4 separate regions of the Homo sapiens genome follow, and all the other regions are linked to region 1. Evidence: promoter capture Hi-C in 16 types of primary human blood cells and fetal thymus (Javierre and others, 2016). All regions are on one chromosome and are shown on one strand. Each heading gives the region's core, a stretch centred on a gene start or on the middle of the fragment in contact. The rest is flanking DNA. Distances are from core to core; before and after follow the strand shown.

The links. Contacts are between HindIII fragments. The CHiCAGO score rates a contact against its expected background, and 5 or more counts as called.
Region 2: a contact is called between a fragment that was not itself captured here and the fragment with the promoter of IRS1 in region 1, in 1 of 17 cell types (M1 macrophages). The highest score is 5.3, in M1 macrophages.
Region 3: a contact is called between the fragment with the promoter of DOCK10 here and the fragment with the promoter of IRS1 in region 1, in 2 of 17 cell types (naive CD8 T cells and activated CD4 T cells). The highest score is 5.9, in naive CD8 T cells.
Region 4: a fragment that was not itself captured here is called in contact with the fragment with the promoter of IRS1 in region 1 in 5 of 17 cell types (M0 macrophages, M2 macrophages, total CD4 T cells and 2 more); the score reaches 6.3 in M0 macrophages.

The regions. Positions count from the first base shown.
Region 1 is chr2:226,798,518-226,801,217 of GRCh38, forward strand. IRS1 (insulin receptor substrate 1) reads right to left here and starts at 1,303. Exons shown (of 2, transcript NM_005544.3): 1 at 1-1,303. The coding sequence starts at 221. It also overlaps a transcript of RHBDD1 not described here. RefSeq lists silencers at 122-171, 1,162-1,581, 1,602-1,671, 2,632-2,700. The HindIII fragment of the contact is 8,747 bases long and covers 1-2,700 here.
Region 2 is chr2:225,732,839-225,735,538 of GRCh38, forward strand. All of the region lies in intron 4 of LOC105373914 (a long non-coding RNA gene), which reads right to left. Among named protein-coding and RNA genes, the nearest start is that of NYAP2, 330 kb to the left of the region's middle. The HindIII fragment of the contact is 3,361 bases long and covers 1-2,700 here.
Region 3 is chr2:225,041,117-225,043,816 of GRCh38, forward strand. It overlaps DOCK10 (dedicator of cytokinesis 10), which reads right to left and starts at 1,352. Exons shown (of 56, transcript NM_014689.3): 1 at 1,136-1,352. The coding sequence starts at 1,258. RefSeq lists an enhancer at 59-398 and silencers at 949-1,188, 1,379-1,748. The HindIII fragment of the contact is 1,396 bases long and covers 57-1,452 here.
Region 4 is chr2:225,693,122-225,695,821 of GRCh38, forward strand. The region is part of intron 7 of NYAP2 (neuronal tyrosine-phosphorylated phosphoinositide-3-kinase adaptor 2); the gene reads left to right. The region is part of intron 5 of LOC105373914 (a long non-coding RNA gene); the gene reads right to left. Among named protein-coding and RNA genes, the nearest start is that of NYAP2, 290 kb to the left of the region's middle. The HindIII fragment of the contact is 1,099 bases long and covers 830-1,928 here.

The DNA.
Region 1 (2,700 bases), core at 53-2,552:
TTGTTGATGTTGAAGCAGCTCTCAAGGGGGATCGAGCGTTTGGGGGCGCTCGACTTGTGCCGCCACTTCTTCTCGTTCTCGTAGTACTCGAGGCGCGCCGGGCCCCCAGCCTCGCTGGCCGCGCGCAGTACGAAGAAGCGTTTGTGCATGCTCTTGGGTTTGCGCAGGTAGCCCACCTTGCGCACGTCCGAGAAGCCATCGCTCTCCGGAGGGCTCGCCATGCTGCCACCGCCACCACCAACGCTGAGCAGAGGGAGGCTCCGAAAAACAACCGGGTGGGGGGCGGAGGCTCCTCGCCGCGGCCCGGCACATGCAAACAGGGCTGGAGGCAGCAGAAACCCCGACTCTGAAATCCACGCCGCCCCCCGCGCCGGGGAGGGGCAGCTGAAGGAGGACGCAGCTGCTGAGCCCAGGAGAGAGCCCGACCGGAGTTTTCGGGCGCTTCACGCCCGGCGGGGAGGCAGTGCGTCCGGGGTGAGGGCAGCCCCGATCCTCCGAGAGCCAAGTCTCCTCTCAGCCGCCGCCGCCACCAGGAAGGAGCGAAGATGCATCTCTCGTCGCCCCGGCTGGAGTCCGGCACAGGGAGGCGACAGTCGGGGGTCCCTGCGGTGCCCCTCCAGGAGCGCGCGCGCGCGCGCGCCTTCCCTCCTGAGTTCCCCTCTGGAAGCAGCGATTCCCGAGGCAAATTAAATATCCTTGGGCAGGGGGAGGCGGGTTGCCAAGTCCCAACGTTGCACGGGGTTCTCCCTCCTCCTTCGCCTCCTCCCACCCCCCAACCGTCCCAGCCGCCACCAGCCGCCCAAATACCAGCTCAGTCGCAGAGACCGCGGCGCTGCGGCTGTTGCTGTTGCTGCTGCTGCTGCTGCTGCTGCTGCCGCCGCCCGCGGGCGCGTCCTCTGCAGCCCCCATCCGGGCCCATCTCGGCGGGTGGAGAAAGTGGCTTTTCCATGCGAAACGATACCGGGCAGCCACTGCAGCTGGGGACCGGCCGGAGGGACAGACTCATCCCTGCCCCTCGCTCCAGGCGGCTGGGGAGGAGGGGAGGGGACAAGGGCGAGAGGGGATGGGGGAGGTTTGGGAAGGGTTCGGGGAAGACGCCTGTTCCTCGGGAGGCGCTGCCGCTGCAGTTACTTCTCCCCTCCTCCCTCCTCCTCCTCCTCCTCGGAGAGTTGCCGAGAGCCCCAACCAAAACAAGCGGCGGCGTCTGGCTCTGCGCGCCGGCCCCCTCCGACCGCGCCGCCGTCTCACTCGGAGGAGAAAAACACGTGACGGAGCCTCCGCGCTCGGCAGCCGGGCAGCCGCCGCCGGGAGGCTCCCGCCCGGGTCTCTACATTCCGGGCCGAGCCCGCCCCGCGCCCGCCCCTCTCCGCCCCCCAGCCGTGCTGCAGCGGCGCCCGCGCCGACCCCGGCGCAGCGCTAGGACAGCGCCCCTGCGCGGCCGCCAGCTCCGGCGCAGCGCCTCCCTACACGCGCGCCAACCGGGGCGCCCCCGGCCCGCAGGAATCCCCGCGGCGGGCGCAGGCGGGGGTGTTTGGGTGGCTACCCGAAAGCACGAGGGGAGTCTGGGAAAACGGGAGGGGGCGAGCTCGGGAAGACGCAGGAGTGAGGGTGGGGGGCCACGGGGGGGCACTGCGGCTACAGAGCCCCGAGTGGGAGGCCGGGGGGAGGCGGGGGCGCCGGAGCTGGGCTGCCTCTTACCTATCAGGTAAGACTGACCCACGGGAGGGAGGTTTCTAGTCAAGGCTGTTTCCCCCAGGAAATTTAAAAGCTAGATTTCGGCTTCAGGGCGATAGGCCATGGTGAGGGGATCTGTATTTTTTAAGGTTTTTCTAAAGGACTTCTGGGCCAGCCTTCCACCTTGGGATCCCCAGATTTGCTGCCGTGAGGTACCTGGAAGGAACAGAGGGACGCCCAAGGGCAGTGACTGGGGGCAGTTATGGTCACTACAAAAGGAGAACAGGGATCCCCAGGAAGTGTCTCACGTCCGGCGCTGTGGAATTAGTTGCTGATCAAGTAGGGAGAAAATGTAAATATCACCTTTTCTCCTGCTCCCCTTGCCCATCCGTGTGACGGGGGGACTCACACCTAAGGCTGAGGGCATGGGGGAGGGGAAATGAGAGGTCCCTTATCATATTCCGAAGTCTATCCGTGACTTTAAAAAGCTGTTAGGGACCTTCAGAGGGTTCATAAGGCCAAAACCCTACTGTGCAAATATTGGCTGAAATGTTTGTTTCACACACAGCTCCCACACCCATTGAACCACCCTATAAGTTTTTAACCTTGACCACAAGGATAACAGGGAGAAAACAAGGATGGTGCCAGCTCAACTGTACAGGAAAATGGTTACTTCATGAGTGGACCAGATCAGCAGCCTGGGTCTACTTGAAGCGCCCCTTTCAGGGTCACCTTGCGGTATCAGTCTCCCCACAAACAAACGCTCCCCAGAGTTTTTTTATTTTTTAAGCCGACCTATAAACAAGCAGTTTGTCCCTGCTTGCTCGCCTGGCACTAAGGACCCACAGAGATGTCACTCGGTTTAATGCTGTCTCATTTTGATGCCTGGCCCGTTTGGGGTTGCCGCCCCTTTACTACGCCGGGACCCTCCTCGGCCTCAGGCTCCCAGGCACTGCAGGATGCTGGCTGGGCACTCAGCAGTCGAGGCGCTGGGCATGCTCAGTGGCTGGGACCCGGCGGGCCGCG
Region 2 (2,700 bases), core at 33-2,532, 1.1 Mb before region 1:
GTATGAGTGTATGTGTATAAATTTCTTGATTGAACTGTGAATTTGCCATAAATCCTACTTGTGATATTCTCCTAAATATAATTTGGATTCCTTTCCAGTACCCATAAGGAAACATTTGAGATTTCAAAGTTCTAAACCATAGAATCTAAGCGTATTAAATGTGCTAATGAGAAGATAAAATAACCATATGACACAGGCATGACTATGAGAGTGATGTGCAAAGCTGCATGAACTAACTCACATCCCTTGGCATAATCCTTTCTCCCTTGACTAAAACACATCCCTTTAGGAATGCTTTCTATTATTTTGTGCAGGGGAAAGTTCTTTCCATCAGATCATATGTGATTTCAAATGAAATATATGAGATACAATAAAACCCAAGCCAACACCATTAAACCCATCTAGAAGGAGTGTTACATCCTGGGTTTGTCATAGGTGTAGTTTAAAATGCCTACAATGATTCAAATCCCTTAATTCTCATTTTAGTTAGTCAATTATGGTGCTGGGACCTCCCAAAATACCCTAGTTGTTAGATATTCCAAGATGGCACAAGAGAATGCCCGGGATATTCTAAGTGTAATATAAACTTGTTGATGTGATTCCCTAATTATGGAAGGGAGGGGTTTCATATTGCTCAATAAGATGGTGCTGCCAGTAAAATTTGCAGAGTGATTAATCAGGACTTTATTTTAAGTTCAGGCAACAAATTTCAACTTGACAAGGTCTGCCTATTCTATTACTTCTCCCTGAATTCTGTTCCTAGGCCTGTGGTCTGAGCATATGACTGTAGAGAAGCCAGTGTCAGATACCCTGTGGTTGTCGGGGAGCATCTCTTTGCAGGGTCTTAACCCTTCCCCCGGCCTCTCTCCTCTGTGAGGTCCTGCCTCTTTTTAATGGGTATCTTGTGTTAGGCACCTCCCTAGTCTGAACCAGAGCTGCCACTCCACGGGAGGAAGGGATGCTTTAGATCTTGATATGAAAAAGGAAAAGGGGGCAAGAACTCACTGTGACCTTATAGCATGACTTTGATGCAAGGGGTCTTAATGGCAATCAGATCTTTACATAGTGAAGATTAACCTCTTGTTTGCATAGTGCCTGTCTCTTGTTAGGTGTTTCCCTGCCTTGCTTTGCACTGCATCATAGAAGAAATGTTTGCTATTGCCTTAGCCTGGATGGAGTGAGGGTCTGTGTTCAGCATAGAACGGGATAAAACCTACCTGCTCTACTACACAATCAGAACAATTACCATTTGTTCTTTGATCCCTGAGGTTTCCTTGGCTTGGTGGGGGATGGGGGTCTACACAAACATTTGCCTGAGACACTTTGAGAAAATACTCTGCTTATTTTATTAGGTATGAAGATCAAGGGTATATTGATCATCAAACAATTTAAACCCTTTGGTTTAGCAAATATGGTTTTTGTTTCTACACTAGCGTGTTTATACATATATTCCTCTATGCAAATGTATGCTAATATATATACATGCATATATATGTGTGCTTTATATATAAGTGAATATGTGTATGTATGTATGTACATGTATACCTACCTATTTATCTATCTACCATGCAAAGATAGGTCCTGAAGTTTGGGACCTATCTTTGCATGATGGATAGATAAATAGATAGGTACACATGTACATACATACATACATACATACACATACTCGCAGAGTGAAATTGGTCTGTATAGTTATGTAGTGGTAGCAAGGAAAGTCAGGAGTAACTCATAAACTGGTATGAGGAGAAGAGTGAGCCAGAGAAGGACTCTTGGGGGAAAGGAAGAAACCTAGACCAAGATAGGATATCAGAGATTGAGGAAAAAGATGGTTCATGAGAATTTCTCTGCAATGGAATTGGTCAATATAGTTAATTCATTTTGATATCAAATATTCACAATTTGCTTCTTGTTTTGTGCTGAGGCACAGCAACAATTTTCACCACCTCCAACTTTTATTGAGAAGTTTCGCCTGCACTAGCTGCATGAAGAAGATGCCAGCTGGAGCCCAACAGCAGGGAAGACTCAACCAGCAGTGGTGGAGTGGGCAGCAGGTACTCCCTGAGGGTGGAAGGTGGGCCGGATGGAGGCTGGGTACTGCCTCACATGTGAAGGGTCACCCATGTGGCAGATCCAGGCCAGTTAGCCCAATGGTTCTCCACAGGGTATGATTTTGTCCCCCAGGGGACCTCTGGCAATGTCTTGAGACATTTTGGTTGTCTTAATGGAGGACAGGACAACTGGCATCTGGAGGAAGAGGCCAGAGATGTTACTAAACATTCTATAACACACAAGTCAGGCTCCACAACAGAGTTATCCACCTCCAATGTCAATAGCGCTGAGGTTAAGAAACCCTAGGTTAGACATACACATTTTCAATTATAGCAGGATGCAATTTAAATTCCTGGCATTGAACATAGAACTTTAGAAAATGTCCCTTCTCCATGTTCTAAAAGATTCTACATCCTGTGGTTTGAGGAACTCCCCCATCTTTTTTTTTTCCCACTCAGCCCTCCCTTTCTAAACTTCACCGCCCCACTCCACACCTCAAAGAGTGAAGGGGCTAGCTGACATATAACTAAAGCTCTGAAGTGGAAAGAAGGCAATATTTCAGATTGCAAAAAAGGACTTGAGATTAATATTATTAATGAACAATAGTTAAATAGTCTAGCACTTTTGTCAGAGACATATTGTGTGGCTTTG
Region 3 (2,700 bases), core at 102-2,601, 1.8 Mb before region 1:
ACTTTCCGACCTCTGGCTTTAGAGAATAGTCCTGGCTGTGGGAACTGGCTCTGGGAAGCTTTTGGCGCCCTCCTCATTGGTGACTGGCAAGAGTAACACTTTCACACTCTTAAAAAGAGCCGTTTAGTTCCTAATGATATTTTCTGGCAAAAAAGAAAATGAAACACACAACCCGGATTCCGGTCCACCAAACGCAGGCCAAGAGCGCGGCTGCTGAGCCCCGGTCTTGCTGTGAGGCTGTTGTTCCCACTCGCTTCCCGTTTCCACTAGAGTTGATTTGTCTCTTGCCACCTCTCCCCGGCAGTGTGGACCTACTGCAACGCAGGAACATCTGGGTTGGTATGGATAGGATCCTAGCATCAGATGCTGGCTGCTGCCCCAGGGACTTCCCGCGGAAATCACCCAGCACTTAGAAGCCGTTTCAATAAGGAAGTAACCAGTAAAGCATTGCTGGTGGGAGAACCCCGCGAAACATCTTAGAAAAATATCAGAAACCGCTGGAGACCTAATGACCCACGTCTCCTCCAGCCTGTGTTCCTCAGCCCTTTCTGGAGGAGTATTAAGTGGTTTGTGGGTTTTTACCCTGCGGTGGGAGGGCTGTTCCAAGTACATCTATTTCTGCGATAGTTAACGTCGGGGGGCCCCAGCTCTAACCAGGGCGAGGACCACGGACTGCATCCCTCTCTCTCAGCGCACTGGTCTGTTTACTGGAGGGTGAGAGGGACGCGCAGACCTCCGGACTCAGGGGTTCTGTTCTGTAGATCCCCCCACCCCACCCGGGGTCTCTGGCACTCGTATCACTTAGCACCAGTGTGACTGGCGGTGCATTCCGGCCCCCTCGCGCCCCATTAAAGCCCCTGCACATCCTCTCCCACGCTGCGCTTCTGCTACCCACGCAGCTGCTCCTCTGAGCGTCCCGCGTGCACAAACGCGCCCCCGGTCCTTACGCGTCGGTGGCGCTGCCTCGCTGAGGTGGCGCCGGGGGAGCCCGCAGAGGCGGCGGGGGAGGGAGTGCGGAGGAGAGGACCCGTGAGCTGCGGGGACCTGGGCCCGCCGAGCTTTTGGGGAAGCTGGGCTCCGTTCCCCCCGGGCGCCTGGGGCGCGCGGGAAGGCGCGGAGGACGCGCCGCACTCACCCGCTGCTGCTGCCGGCTGCTGACTGCCACCGCGGCGGCGGACGCGGCGCTGTGCCGGAGCTCGGCCGCCTGCCCAGGTCTCAACAGGCTCCGGGTGAACCTGCGGGTCCGCTCACCGGCCATCGCCGGTCACGCCAATCGCGCCGCGGGCCCGGGGCGCGCCTCCCGCCGGTCTTCCCCGCGCCAACCTTCTCTATCCACCCGCCGTTCAGGAAGCGGAACTCGGAGCCTTCCCCCCCCTCTTCCTCGCTCAACTCGCAAGAGGCGGGTTTTTCTCTCTTGCACCCCCACTCTTCCCACCCCCTTCCCTCCTCTGAAGCTTCTCGAAGACTTTCCAAACTCTGCGCTCCCCCGGGCGCGCGCGGCCAACTCGGCTGGCGGCCGGGCCCTGCAGCGGCGCATCTGGAGCGGGCGTCGCGGGACGCGTGTGGGGCGGCTCCTGCCCGCGCCGCCCACACGGGCTCAGCTGGCCGGCCGGGGCTGTCCACGCCGCCCGGGGGAACTGCAGGCTGCGGGGGAGGGCGGGGGGCGGCCGCCGAGGGGCTCCGGGCGGGGCCTGTCCAAGGCCGTCGCCTGTCCAAGGCCGTCAGCCTCATTTGGAGGTTGCTGGGAGAGTTGGAGCCCTGGATGCATTTGCCGTTTAGACTTCTATTTTCTGGGTCCGGCTAGTGGGTGGGGGCCAAGCTCGGTTCGCCCTTCCACCCTCGGGAAGGGGTCAGAGGCTTATTAAAGATCTGGTGGCTGGGATCCCAGCAGCATCGCCCAAGCCAGCGTTTGGAAGGCTCCCTTGCCAGAAGTCCATGTTCAGGGCCTTGGAATAAGCTTCCCCATTCATTCACTCCTTCAATGAGTATTTATTAAGCGCCTACTATATGCCAGCTCACACTGTTCTGGAAACTGAGGATACGGAGAGGAACTTAGCAACTACACTTTAAGGCTGTGTAGAGCTGATAGGTTTTTTCGGGGTAGGGGTGGGAGACAGCAAGTAACCAAGCGAACAAATAAACAAATACAGAGAAATCAAGGAGACAGTTTAAGCTACTAACACGAACTCAAAACCAATAAATCAGCGTTCTGGGGGTAAGAGACTTTGGGTGGCATTAGGATGAGTAGGCAAGAACCAACTGGCAGGGTTACTATGTAGGGTGGTCAGGTCGGGGGTGGATTTCACAGTTATGCTGTCTCTGCTCTTCTCTTGCCCATACCCATCTAGCCTGCACTTTGCCTCTAGATAGGTATCTGATGAAAGCCTTCTAAGAAGTCTCTTCCTGGGTCATACCCAGGGTGGTTCTGCAATTCAGTGTTGGACTGGATGGGGGGCAGAGAAGTTCTGGCCCCTGGATACTGGTCTGGAGAGATCTGGGACAGCCTTTCCAAGTGGTCTGGTTTTTTCTTAACAGCTTTTTATGGATCCATGACCCTGCCACTTTCTAAAGCCAATGATAGATAGTTATAACACAAGGTCACATTTGGGTATAAAGAATTCTTAAGCAATTGATAAATGCACTTTAGTCAGCTCTTTGTTAGCCAGGATTCAATTAGCCAGAGATGCTGTTTGGGGATCA
Region 4 (2,700 bases), core at 129-2,628, 1.1 Mb before region 1:
AGTTTTTAATCCAATGTTCTTTTCCTGCTCCAGAGTCCCTTTCAGGATAGCATGTAAATTAATTACACTTAGTCATTGGGTTTCCTTACCCTTCTCTAGGATGTGACAGTTTCTCAGACTTTCCTTATTTTGGATGACCTTTGGAGCTTTGAGGAGTACTGGTATGGTATTTTGTAAACTGTCTCTCAATTTGGGTTTCTCTAGTGGTTTCTCATGATTAGAGTGGAGTTATGGGTTTTGAGGAGGAAGATGGCAGAGGTAAAAGTGTCTCTGGTCTCATCACATTATACCAAGGATACATACTGCCAGTATAGTTTACTACGGTTGATCGCCTGTTGGGGGTGATGTTTGCCAGGTTTCTTGTCCGTTTGGGGTGCCAGAACAGAATACTATACACTGGGTAGCTTATAAACAACAAAAAGTTATTTTTCACCGTTCTGGAAACTGAGAAGTCCAAGACCAGGGTGACAGCATGGTTATGATCTGGTAAAGACACTCTTCCTGGTTGCAGACTGTTGACTACTTGCTGTATCGGCAGCCTGGCTGAAGGGGTGGAAGAGCTCTCTTGGGATTATTTTATAAGAGTACTAGTCCCATGCACCTCCCAATCACCTTGAGGAGGTCCCACCTCTTAGTACCATCACCTCGAAGGTCAGGATCCCAACATAAGAATTTTAAGGGGGCACAAACGTTCAGACCATAACACCAGGTTCCTCCAATGTATAGTTACTTTCCTCCTAGCTTTCCACACTGTACTTTTTAGGAAGAAGTCACTGTGTGTAGCCCACAAAAAAGGGGTGGAGATTGAAATTTCACCTCCTAGACAGGAAGCTTCACTTGATTTTATTTCCATGGACTTATTATCCAAGGATGTTGCTTCTGCTGAATCATGCTGGTATAAAAATCTTGTCCTAGAGGTGTGTGTTCATATGAATTGAACAACTGTCCTACAGTTAACTTTTGATGTGTACTTACCTACTTACGTATACATTTTTTCTTTTCTTCATGGGATAAACAGTATAATAAATGCCTTTGGATTAAAGATAAGAAATAAGGCCATTGAATTAAATAACTAAACTAGAAGAGTTTATTTACTGGGCTTGGCTTCAAATTCGTTTTAATAGTCAATTCCCAGAGTTCTTTCAATTCCAGGGAGAGGTGGAATGGGATTTTACACATCTTTTTTTTTTCTTTTAAGAATATGAAGAATTTTGTGATAAAAGAAAAGAAAATAGAAAAGCGATGCAATTTTTTATGGGTAGTATTTTTAACATACTTCACATACTTGCTAAACATGCTATTTATTATATCCAAAACAATGAATGAAAGCATGACATCTTACTATCAACAAAAAATAATATTTAGATATATTTTTGGGGGACTCAACGATGGAAATGGCCACAGTAGCAACATTGGAGTTCGATTTTGAGAATTAAAATGACTATGCACCCAAACATGTGCTATTTAAAAATAAATGTGGGAAGCAGATATATCTTCCCACAATATAATTATATTCTATGTTTATTTATCACATCTTAACAGAAATATTTTGGGGGAGTTTAAATGGAAACAAATTGATAGCAGATATAAAATAAGAAGATTATATACTAGAATCTATATATTTGTTGAGATATTTTCAAATATATATTTATATTTTGAATGGACAATCTTCCAGCAACCTGAGTTTGAATTATTGTCTGATACCTAGCCATCTTTCATGTATTGGGCAATGCTTTTTTCATGGAAGTTTATATATTGGGCAATATTTTCTTACTCACTACACATGTCTCCAAAACATGAGTTAAATATTATGGAGTAAGTCTGAAAAAAAAAGTTATTTTCTTTTTCTAGCAATTCAGACCATTCTATCAATCAAGTGGACATATAACTATTTAATGCAAAATAAAAATCTAAAGAATAAAATTCCAAGCTTTATAATTTTTATTCTTATTCTTCTATTCTTTAGAGTTTAAGAAATATATTCTTAATAAATTTACACACCTCTATAGCATTTCTGCTTGACACAAAATACATATTTTATGGATAATACAGTACACTGTATATACATATATGAAATGTTATGCAACTGTGAAATATATAGGTGACCCTGTTGTCAAGGGAATCCAGAAAAATTATTTTTCAGTTGCACATACCAATTTATGCCAAAATATATTAAAGGGAATTAAGTAACACATGACTTAATGTTTGTGTAGACAACTAAATAAAATAAAATCATAGAAGTGATGCTGTAAGAAATATTGGGACTTAAAGAAGTTTGGAGGTTTTGCAATGATGTTGAAATGTATAGAACCCATAGTATTTTACTAAGAAGATTATCTGGATTTTATTTTATTTTTTTGAGAGACAACAAAAACTGTTCTATGATGTTGGCTTCTATTTAAGTCATAAAACTTCTATTGAAAGCCTAGGACTCTGTTCTACATGTTGGGACCACCAAGATGAGTGAGATTTGAAGCCTGTCCTCTGGGAATTCTGTGTTATAAATTTCATTATGACAGTTTGTAGTTACTCAATAAATTTTTCTTGCATTTTCACCAAAATAGAGTTACTGCATTTTTATTGCACAGATTATCATGTTATGAAATATTGTAAGTCTTTTGAAAAATTTCTGAGCCACTTTGACAGTCTCCTGTTGGAACACAAACTTATTCATTAGATTAACTCAACAAACACCTAAAA